3 separate regions of the Homo sapiens genome follow, and regions 2 and 3 are each linked to region 1. Evidence: promoter capture Hi-C in human tissues and cell types (Jung and others, 2019). All regions are on one chromosome and are shown on one strand. The core of a region is centred on a gene start or on the middle of the fragment in contact, and the rest is flanking DNA. Distances in the headings are between cores, read along the strand shown.

Region 1 (2,983 bases), core at 211-2,710:
AGTTCTATACTAAAAAACTAAAGCCCGCCTGAGTCTTGTTAATGAATGATAGCACACGGGAGGGACAAAGCGTGCTCTGCTGGCAGCTGGAGTAACAAAAGTAATGAGGCGAGGTCGGAACAGGATCTGCTGGCTCCGGCTCGGTTTCCTCGCACAGGTCTCTCCAGCTGGATCCTCGACGCTAGGGAGGAAGGGGCGCGGGACTGCTGTGGGGGTTTTCCCTCCCCAGGCAGGGGCAGGACCTGTTCCGGGCGACTGCAGGGTTAAGGGTATCGTCTTAAAGAGCCGGATCCTCCCGGCTGGAGCGAGGCTGGATGGCGGGACGCAGCCTCTCAGCCTCTCGTACCCGCCCTGCGTCCGCAGTGGTTGTTGGCGCAGCCGCCCCGTCGGTGTTCCGGGCTCAGTCCCCGCTCCCCAGCGCCAGACGCAGACTCCGGGCCAAGTTCTCCCTCCGCTCGCTGCTTTCTGCCGCAGGACCCGGATCAATAAAGGGAAGGAGAGCCGGGAGGAAATGATGGAGAACAGAGAGAAAGGAGATGCTTGATTTCACTCGCCAAGGAGTGAGTGCTCATCGGCAGACACTGGGCTCTGGCCACGCGTCTTAGACTCCAAATCTCGGCTCACTGGTCCCTTTGAGGAGGTCGCCTGGTGTTCCCGTAGCCCTCCACCCCACCGTAGGAGAGCGCCTGCCACGAGCTCCGCGCCTCGCTAAGTGCTTTGCTACGTGAACTCTTAGTTTTCCCAACATCCCTAAGCCGCCGATACATTATCACCCACGTATTGCGGACGAGAGAACCGCCTCGGAGAAGCTGGCTGGCTCGCTTGGAGTTTTGCAGCTAGTGGCGGAGCGAGCATTCCGAGCAGGTACTGTGCGATCCTCCAGCGCCGGCCGCAGCTCACAGCCCCTTAGCTCCGCCGGGTTATTGTGCGGCCGCGCCTTCTGCACCTGTTGCGGCCCTCGCTAGGCGGGAAGGGAGGGAGAAGAGGAGGACAAAGGGGATGACCAGGTGGCTCTCCCCCGACGGACTCCCGGCCCAGGGAGCGGATAGACCACTCCCAGAGAGAGTGTGGCTTTGAGCCTTGGAGAGGATGCTCTCCTTCTCCAGGGATCGCCTCCCCAGCGGACGCAGAGTTTCAGGGAAATGTCCGCCTCCGCCACTTGGGATGGCAGTGGGGAGAGGAGGATCTGGGTGTCCGGAGGAGGGCAGTGGGAGAAAGCTGGAGCTGCTGGAGTCGCAGCTGCCTGCGGAGCGGGCCCGGGAGGAAGCGGGGCCGAGCGTGCGGCGTCCACGCGGTGAGTGTGCAGCGCTTTCATTCAAACTTTCTCCAGTCTCGGTTCCGGCGTCAGCAAGGTGTGACCAATCAGAGCCCAGAGACGGGAATAAATTATGCAAATCACCATCTGGCGATGGGTCAGATGACTCCCATACTTTTAAAAACTACCTCTATAGGAGCGTGACAGCAGCGAGTCCTTGCCTCCCGGCGGCTCAGGACGAGGGCAGATCTCGTTCTGGGGCAAGCCGTTGACACTCGCTCCCTGCCACCGCCCGGGCTCCGTGCCGCCAAGTTTTCATTTTCCACCTTCTCTGCCTCCAGTCCCCCAGCCCCTGGCCGAGAGAAGGGTCTTACCGGCCGGGATTGCTGGAAACACCAAGAGGTGGTTTTTGTTTTTTAAAACTTCTGTTTCTTGGGAGGGGGTGTGGCGGGGCAGGATGAGCAACTCCGTTCCTCTGCTCTGTTTCTGGAGCCTCTGCTATTGCTTTGCTGCGGGGAGCCCCGTACCTTTTGGTCCAGAGGGACGGCTGGAAGGTAACGTGAATTTGTTTTTATTCCCCCCAGCCACTTCTCTGTGCTGGGTCCCCTCTGTCTTGCTGATTCTTCAAACCCTCCTTGTTCCTATGAAATTCTTCCTTTCCCACTGCGCTGCCCATTCTCTCCTCCAATCCACCTTGGAGTCCACCTGTCTCTCTGCTGGTCTGATGGGGGCATTCCCGGCAAGTCATGCAAAAGGCAAAGGCTGGCAGGGTGCGCTGGCTCTTGCCAGCCCTCCCACCCCCACCTCCTTCCCTTATACGGCTCCCTAAGCCAGTGCTGGTGCTGTCCAGCCAGCCGAGCGGCCTGGCAGCAGCTCTGAAACCTTGTCCTCATGCCTGAACCTGGAGGTTTGAGAGGCAAGAAGGCTGTCAGAGCTGTGTCTCCTGGAGCTGCCTTTTAATCTTGGTGTAGGTGTCTTGAAAGTTCAGGTGGCAGGGTAGCTGGCTTTGGTTTGATTCGTGCTTGCAGGGAGCGTCTGGTGGGTCGCTTGTGCTTAGAAGCTGCCGGGCCTATTCCCCCAGGTTGCCAGCCTTTTCCTCTTCAACACTCTTGTGCTCCCCCGACTCTTCCTCTTCCCACTCCTCCTCCCTTTCCTCCTCCTGGCTTTTAGCTTCTCTTCCTCTTGGGTTCTGTATGGCAGCCTTTGCCAGTGGAGGCAGCTTGCCCTGGGGGAGCCAGAGTCAGTCAGCTCTGGGGGAGTCAGAATCAGAGTGAGAACTAAGTCAGCTGATAAGCAGTGGAGGGCTGGGGAGCCTCTAAACTGAACCCCATCATCTCATCTTCTAGTCTGCTGAGGTTGTGCCAAATGGTCTGTGTGGGCTTGTGTATGTGTGGGAGGGTTACTGTGAATGAATGGAAAGCCTTGCTTTACTCAACATGTTTCCAACTCTGGTGCTAACTAGAAGCATTGCCTAGGGCAGGTCTCATCTCTGGCTCCTCACCTGTAAAATGCTAAAGTTCCTTCTAACTTCTGTGTTCTGGGCCTCTGAGTATGTGTGAGTCATTTCCTTCATTGCAAAAAGTATTTACTGCATACCTACTTAGTGTCAGACACTATTCTGGGAGCAGGGGAGAGAGCAGTGGACAAAATAGATGGCAATCTGTGCCCTTGTGACACTTACATTTCAGTGGTGGGAAGACAGACAGTGCACTGATTAAAGTATCAGTG
Region 2 (2,983 bases), core at 278-2,777, 890 kb before region 1:
AATGCTCCTGGCTTGACTGCTCCTTGGAGTATCTACAATTCACATGGGTACCCTTAGGACAAGGTAGACAGGCTTCTTGATCCCCAAACACAGACTTTTGGTGTTTGAGGAATTTGCGGTCCTGTGAGAGCACAATGGGATGACTTATCTGAGTTTTCCTAGTGTTCTTCAAAGCCCCTCATAAATAGGGCTGGCTGGTTCACTCGTCTGGCCTTGGGTCCTGAGGGTCAGCTGGCCTAGCTATTAGCATATGTGGTGGGGACAACTCTTAATAGTATGGACGTGTCCAATGCAATGTGGGATATTTAGGACTCCTGGCCTCTGCCACTGAATGGCCGTCACTGGAGAGGGGCAGGCATAGTGACCACCAAAAACATCCTCCTACTTCCAGATTCACCTAGGAGATATTGTGCATCCAGCTGAAGGCCCCCAAATGGGAGGGAAAGCCCACCTCTAGCCTGAGGACCTCCAGCCCTCCTATGGGAGTCTTGAGCCTGTACATAGATAAGCGGGCTTCCTAGAGACTTTCTTAGACAAAAATCAGGGCTGGCCTCCCCTCCCTACCTGGAGGCAAGAAGGAAAGAGGGTGACAAAGGGAGGTTGGCCTCAAGCCCATTGCCTACCTGCCCTCCACTTCTGCACCCCAGAAGAAGAGGGGCATAAAGATCCTACCAGCTGTGTCCCCAGCATGTTCTCAACCCACAGAGGCCCAGACCCCCATCTCCGGCCCCTTCTGTCCCTGTTCGGACTCCTTAGCAGGCAGGAGGCTTTGTGATGTTCTCAGCACCCTTGCCCAGCCTCTGTCCTGGGCTCCCCCTGCCATCCTGTGGCCCTGTCAGTCCCTCCCCTGATCTGTTCTGATCTTCCATCTCTCCTTGCTTTCTCACCAGCAGGCGGTTCCCTCTGCCTAAAATCTCACTCAGCCCTTCTCTGCCTGTCCTTTTTCTGGCTCAGGATACCTCCCCTGATCCCTCTCAGATGCACAGGATGGAGTCCAGCATCCACCTGCCATTTCCCCAGAGCCCCTGCCCCCATCTCTGTGGCATGGCTCCCACCACGTCGCACCTGCTTACATAACTGCCAGACTCCCTTCCTGGACTCTGGGCTGCCTGAGGGCTGGGCCATTTCCTTCAGCCTCATAACCCCAGCACCAGGTGCTCTAGAGTGAGTGCTGCTGAAGAACCTCCTTTCTAGATGTGCTGTTGTGTTGTCTAGAGTGTACAAGAAAGGCAGGATTTGTGTCTGTCTTGACACTCAGTCGTCCCTCTGTCTCTGAGTTTCTCCCACCACTTCCCAGCAGAAATTCAGCATGAACCTGGTTATGCTCTTCTCGGTGTGATTTCTGAGACACATTTGTTGTTGTTGTTGTTAAAGAAAACAGGATTTTTCCATCGTCTCCTGTATTAGGACACTATAGGCCATGGCATAATACTAAACAAACCCCACATCTCAGTGGAATCACACACAGAATTTTATTTCTAACTTTCTGAAATTCTGCTGAGGGTCCAGCTGGTCTCCAGGGTAGCTCCTTGGGGACTCCAGGGTCCAGGTGGATTGCGTTCTGTGGCCCTGCCATCTCAATCCATGGTATCCAAGTGGCCCTGGCACAGGCAAAGAGAGCTGGAGGGTCGTGTTCTAGGTCAAGCTTGGCCAACCTGTGGCCCAGGATGGCTTTGAATATGGCCCAAAACAAATTTTTAAACTTTCTTAAAACATTATGAGGTATTTTACAATTTTTTGTTTTAGCTCATCAGCTATCATTAGTGTATTTTATGTGTGGCCCAAGACAGTTGTTTCGGTGTGGCCCAGGGAAGCCAAAAGATTGGACACCCCTGCTGTATGTCTTAAATGCTTTGGCCCAGAAATATCAGCTCCACTCAGAGCCCATTGGACAGAACTAGTCACATGCCCCCGCCCCAACTGCAAGGGCTGACACTTCTGCAGGGGAGCGGGAAGAAGGGGAGCACATGGCTGTTCTGTAAGCCTCAAGTGCCTCTGCCAAATCTTCCTCTTTCCTTCACTTGCTCACTTAACTCATCTTCATGGACAAGTGCTCTGCCCTAGCCTTTTAGAGAGAGAGAATTGATCACATAAGATACAGTTCCCCACGAGAGGCACAGCCTAGTAGAGGAAATGAGACATGCACAGATTACCACATGCATTCAAAGCTGCAAATGCCCGAGCAAGTGCTGGTGCCTTGCCCAGGTCACAGTCCCTGAAGGGCAAAGTCTGGGTCCTCTCCCAGTACACCCCACCTTCCTCCCCTGTGCTGCTGCAGCTCCTGCAGTCTGGGGCGTGAATGTGTGGCTGAGTACAAAGCAGAGGGCGCCATGGGCCCCCACACTGAATGCCTGTTGATCTCCTGGGAGCCCTAGCTTATCTCTCAGTGGGTTACACACAGAGCGCATGCCACAATGAGTGGTTTTAGGAGGTGATGCCTCCACTGGGGGTCAGATGCTGACACCTAGGCGTCTGGCCAAGCTCCTCTCCAGCCAAAGCCAAGGCCCCTATTCCTGGTGACTCCATCTGGCTGTGTTTCCACAACTGGCAATGAATCCAGGGGTGAGTCTCACTGCAGTGCTGACCTCAGGAACTTCATCTCTGGAGCTGCTGGACTCAGGCTCTTGGAGCCCCCACAAGGATGTGGGGCAACAGGGTAGACAGTAGGTGTCTGTGTCCAGGGCTCACCCTATACCTCTGTGAACCCCTGCTGCCAGGAATAGTTCTGCACTCTGAAAAGGCATTTAGTGAGCTAGTTAAGTAAAGGGTCTGTTGGTGGTGTTAACTGTCCCCAAGGTCTTCCTTCCCACACTGGTGGCTGGAGGGAAAGGAGCAGGTACGCTGGGATAGGAGCTAGCCAATAGCCAGGTTTTATGGCATCCACACCGAGGCATGACATGCCATACAATGGCAGCCTCAGGCCAGTTGAGACTGACATTGCTCTCTAAGAACACTGATGGGGTGGTGGGGGGTCGGCGGGGGT
Region 3 (2,983 bases), core at 279-2,778, 650 kb after region 1:
AGAAATAGAGATGGGGTTTTACCATGTTGCCCAGGCTGGTCTCAAACTCCTGGACTCAAGCGATCCGCCATCTCGGCCTCCCAGACTGCTGGGATTACAGGTGTGAGCCACCGCGCCCAGCCCATTTTCCTCAATTCTCAATTCTAATCCATCAGCAAAGCCTAATAGTTCAATCTCCAAGGCACATCCCAAATCAGGCACCTTTTCCATCTCCAGTGGTGCCACCCTCCACCAGCCCCAGCCATTTCCTGCTGGGCTACTGCAAAAACCACCTGCTTGGTCTCTCCACTTCCATTTATTTGACCTCATCTCTTCCTGCCCTTCTCCTTTCTTACTTTGAGCTCCCGACCTCAATCCCTTCTTTCTGTTCCTCAAACATGCTGTGCTTATTCTCACCTCAGGCTATTTGAAGCTACTGGCTCCTTCCCTGGAAGGCTCTACCCCTGACATTCACCTCAGGCCCAAAATTTAAATAAGCACCAAGAAAACTTAGTACTCAAGACATTAGGACAATAATTTAATGCAATAGCAAAAAAAAAAAAAAAAAAAAAAGGTCCATGACGAAAAAAAACACAAATTTAAATAAAGACAGGATTCAGGAGTGCCATGCTAAGCCATATAGAATCCAAAGGCCAGAGGTAAAAATGTGTGCCCCTATATACATTTTTTTTTGAGCTGGAGTCTCACTCCGTTGCCCAGGCTGGAGTGCAATGGCGCAATCTCGGCTCACTGCAACCGCCTCCCAGGTTCAAGCTATTCTCATGTCTCAGCCGCCCAAGTAGCTGGAATTACAGGCGCCCACCACCGCGCCCAGCTAATTTTTGTATTTTTAGTAGAGACAGGGTTTCGCCACATTGGTCAGATTGGTCTCAAACTCCTGACCTCAGGTGATCCACCCACCTCAGCCTCCCAAACTGCTGGGTTTACAGGCATGAGCCACCGCACTCAGCCTTGTATTTCTTTTTAAGAGGCAGGGTCTCACTATGTTGCCCAGCCTGGAGTACGGTGGCTGTTCACAGCCTCGATCAGGAATTTTGACCTGCTCAGTTTCTGACCTGGGCTGGTTCACCCCTCCTTAGGCAACCTGGTGATCCCAGCTCCTGGGAGTTCACTATGTTGATGCCAAACTTAGTGCAGACACCCGGTCAGCATAACACACTACAGCCCAGAACTCCTGAACCCAAGCAATCCTCTTGCTTTAGCCTCTGGAGTAGCTGGGACTATAAACATGTGCCACCATGCCCAACTGTATATATATATGTGTGTGTGTGTGTGTGTGTGTGTGTGTGTGTGTGTGTGTGTGTGTATAGAGAGAGAGAGAGAGAGATGGAGTTTCGCTCTTGTTGCCCAGGCTGCAGTGCAATGGCGCGATCTCGGCTCACTGCAACCTCCGCATCCCGGGTTCAAGCAATTCTCCTGCCTCAGTCTCCCGAGTAGCTGGGATTGCAGGCATGCGCCACCACGCCTGGCTAATTTTTGTATTTTTAGTAGAGACAGGGTTTCTCCATGTTGGTCAGGCTAGTCTCAAACTCCCGACCTCAGGTGATCCGCCTGCCTCGGCCTCCCAATGTGCTGGGATTACAGGCGTGAGCCACCACGCCCAGCCCCAGCTGTATATTTTTAAAGGTTAACTTTTCCCAGGATCTTAAAGGAGTTAAAAAATATTGAAAAATTTTAAAGTGGGTTGTTAAAATGCACATTATGTTAAGCTTAAATATTTTATTATACTTGTGTTAAGGGATCTCCAGGACTCCAGGTTTGAGGATTTGCTAGAAGGACTCACAGAATTCAAAAAAGCTGTTATAGTCATGGTTTTGGCTTATTACAATGAAAGGATGCAGATTACAATCAGCAAAGGAAAAAAAGTGCACAGGGCAGAGTCCAGAAGAGACGAGACATAAGCTTCCATTGTCCTTAACAAGGAGAATTGTAGGGAGAGCACCCAGCAATGATGTGTGACAACATGGAGGAAGTATTGCCAAGCAGGGAAGCTCACCCAAACTTGCAAGGTTTTCACTGGGGGCCAGTCTTCATTTCTCCCACCTCCAGAGGTGAAATGAATACAGCATGGCCCAGGTTCCCAGGTGAACAACAACAGGTTTCAACAAAAATTACATCGTTAGTATAAATCCGGGATAGGCCAGGTGCAGTAGCTCATGCCTGTAATCCCAGTGCTCTGAGGGGCTGAGGCAGGAGGACTGCTTGAGGCTGGGAGTTCGAGACCAGCCTGGGCACAGAACAAGATCCTGCCTATACAAAAAATTTTTTAAATTAGCTGGGTGTAGTGGCATGTTCCCATAGTCTTAACTACTCAGGAATCTGAGGCAAGAGGATGGCTTCAGCCCAGGAATTCGAGGCTGCAGTGAACTATGATCGTGTCACTGCACTCCAGCCTGGGCAACGGAGTGAGACTCCATCTCTAAAATAAAAAATAAGAAGCTATCTAGGGTAGTCCAAGTCTCTAGGAAGACAAAGACACTCATATCAGGCAGAATTCCAAGAACTCACAGGTTATATCTCCCGGGAGCCTCAAGGGTCCATCCTTTCTTTGGAATGTGCAGGGTTGGACACCTCAAGCCTGCTGAATTAATCTTTAACTGCATAATAACAAAACCAGAAGTTAGTATAACTTCACTGGCTTTAATGAAGCAAGCTCATCAATAATATTTTCTGGATCAATCAATAATATCTACTTCTGGAAAAAGTTAACCACTGAAGAAATACATTAAGGCATGTCTATACAGACACACATTTTTCTTTTGGCCTCTGATTCCAACATGGTTGAGCATAGCACTGCCAGATCCTGTCTTTATTTAAAATTTTGATATTTCATGCTTTGTGGACTTTTTGCATTAATTTTGATTTTTAAAAATATTATTGATCCATAGACTGGGCGCAGTGGCCCTATAACCCTCAAGCCTGTGATTTCTCATCTTTCCAGCCTAATCAGAATAGTACATAATCAGGAATGCCTCTGATAACC

Evidence for each region. The method cuts DNA at HindIII sites, captures the fragments that hold promoters and counts their contacts. A contact is called where the count stands out against the background at its distance.
Region 2: a fragment that was not itself captured here is called in contact with the fragment with the promoter of LIPG in region 1 in 1 of the 25 tissues and cell types used here (spleen).
Region 3: a contact is called between a fragment that was not itself captured here and the fragment with the promoter of LIPG in region 1, in 1 of the 25 tissues and cell types used here (dorsolateral prefrontal cortex).

What each region holds. Positions count from the first base shown.
Region 1 is chr18:49,560,597-49,563,579 of GRCh38, forward strand. It overlaps LIPG (lipase G, endothelial type), which reads left to right and starts at 1,461. Exons shown (of 10, transcript NM_006033.4): 1 at 1,461-1,809. The coding sequence starts at 1,713. RefSeq lists an enhancer at 1,668-2,168. The HindIII fragment of the contact is 10,319 bases long and covers 1-2,983 here.
Region 2 is chr18:48,672,076-48,675,058 of GRCh38, forward strand. The region is part of intron 6 of CTIF (cap binding complex dependent translation initiation factor); the gene reads left to right. It overlaps LOC105372107 (a long non-coding RNA gene), which reads right to left. Exons shown (of 4, transcript XR_007066460.1): 4 at 1,450-1,601. Among named protein-coding and RNA genes, the nearest start is that of MIR4743, 3.0 kb to the left of the region's middle. The HindIII fragment of the contact is 5,935 bases long and covers 1-2,983 here.
Region 3 is chr18:50,206,032-50,209,014 of GRCh38, forward strand. It overlaps the pseudogene RN7SL310P. Among named protein-coding and RNA genes, the nearest start is that of MYO5B, 12 kb to the left of the region's middle. The HindIII fragment of the contact is 4,732 bases long and covers 1-2,983 here.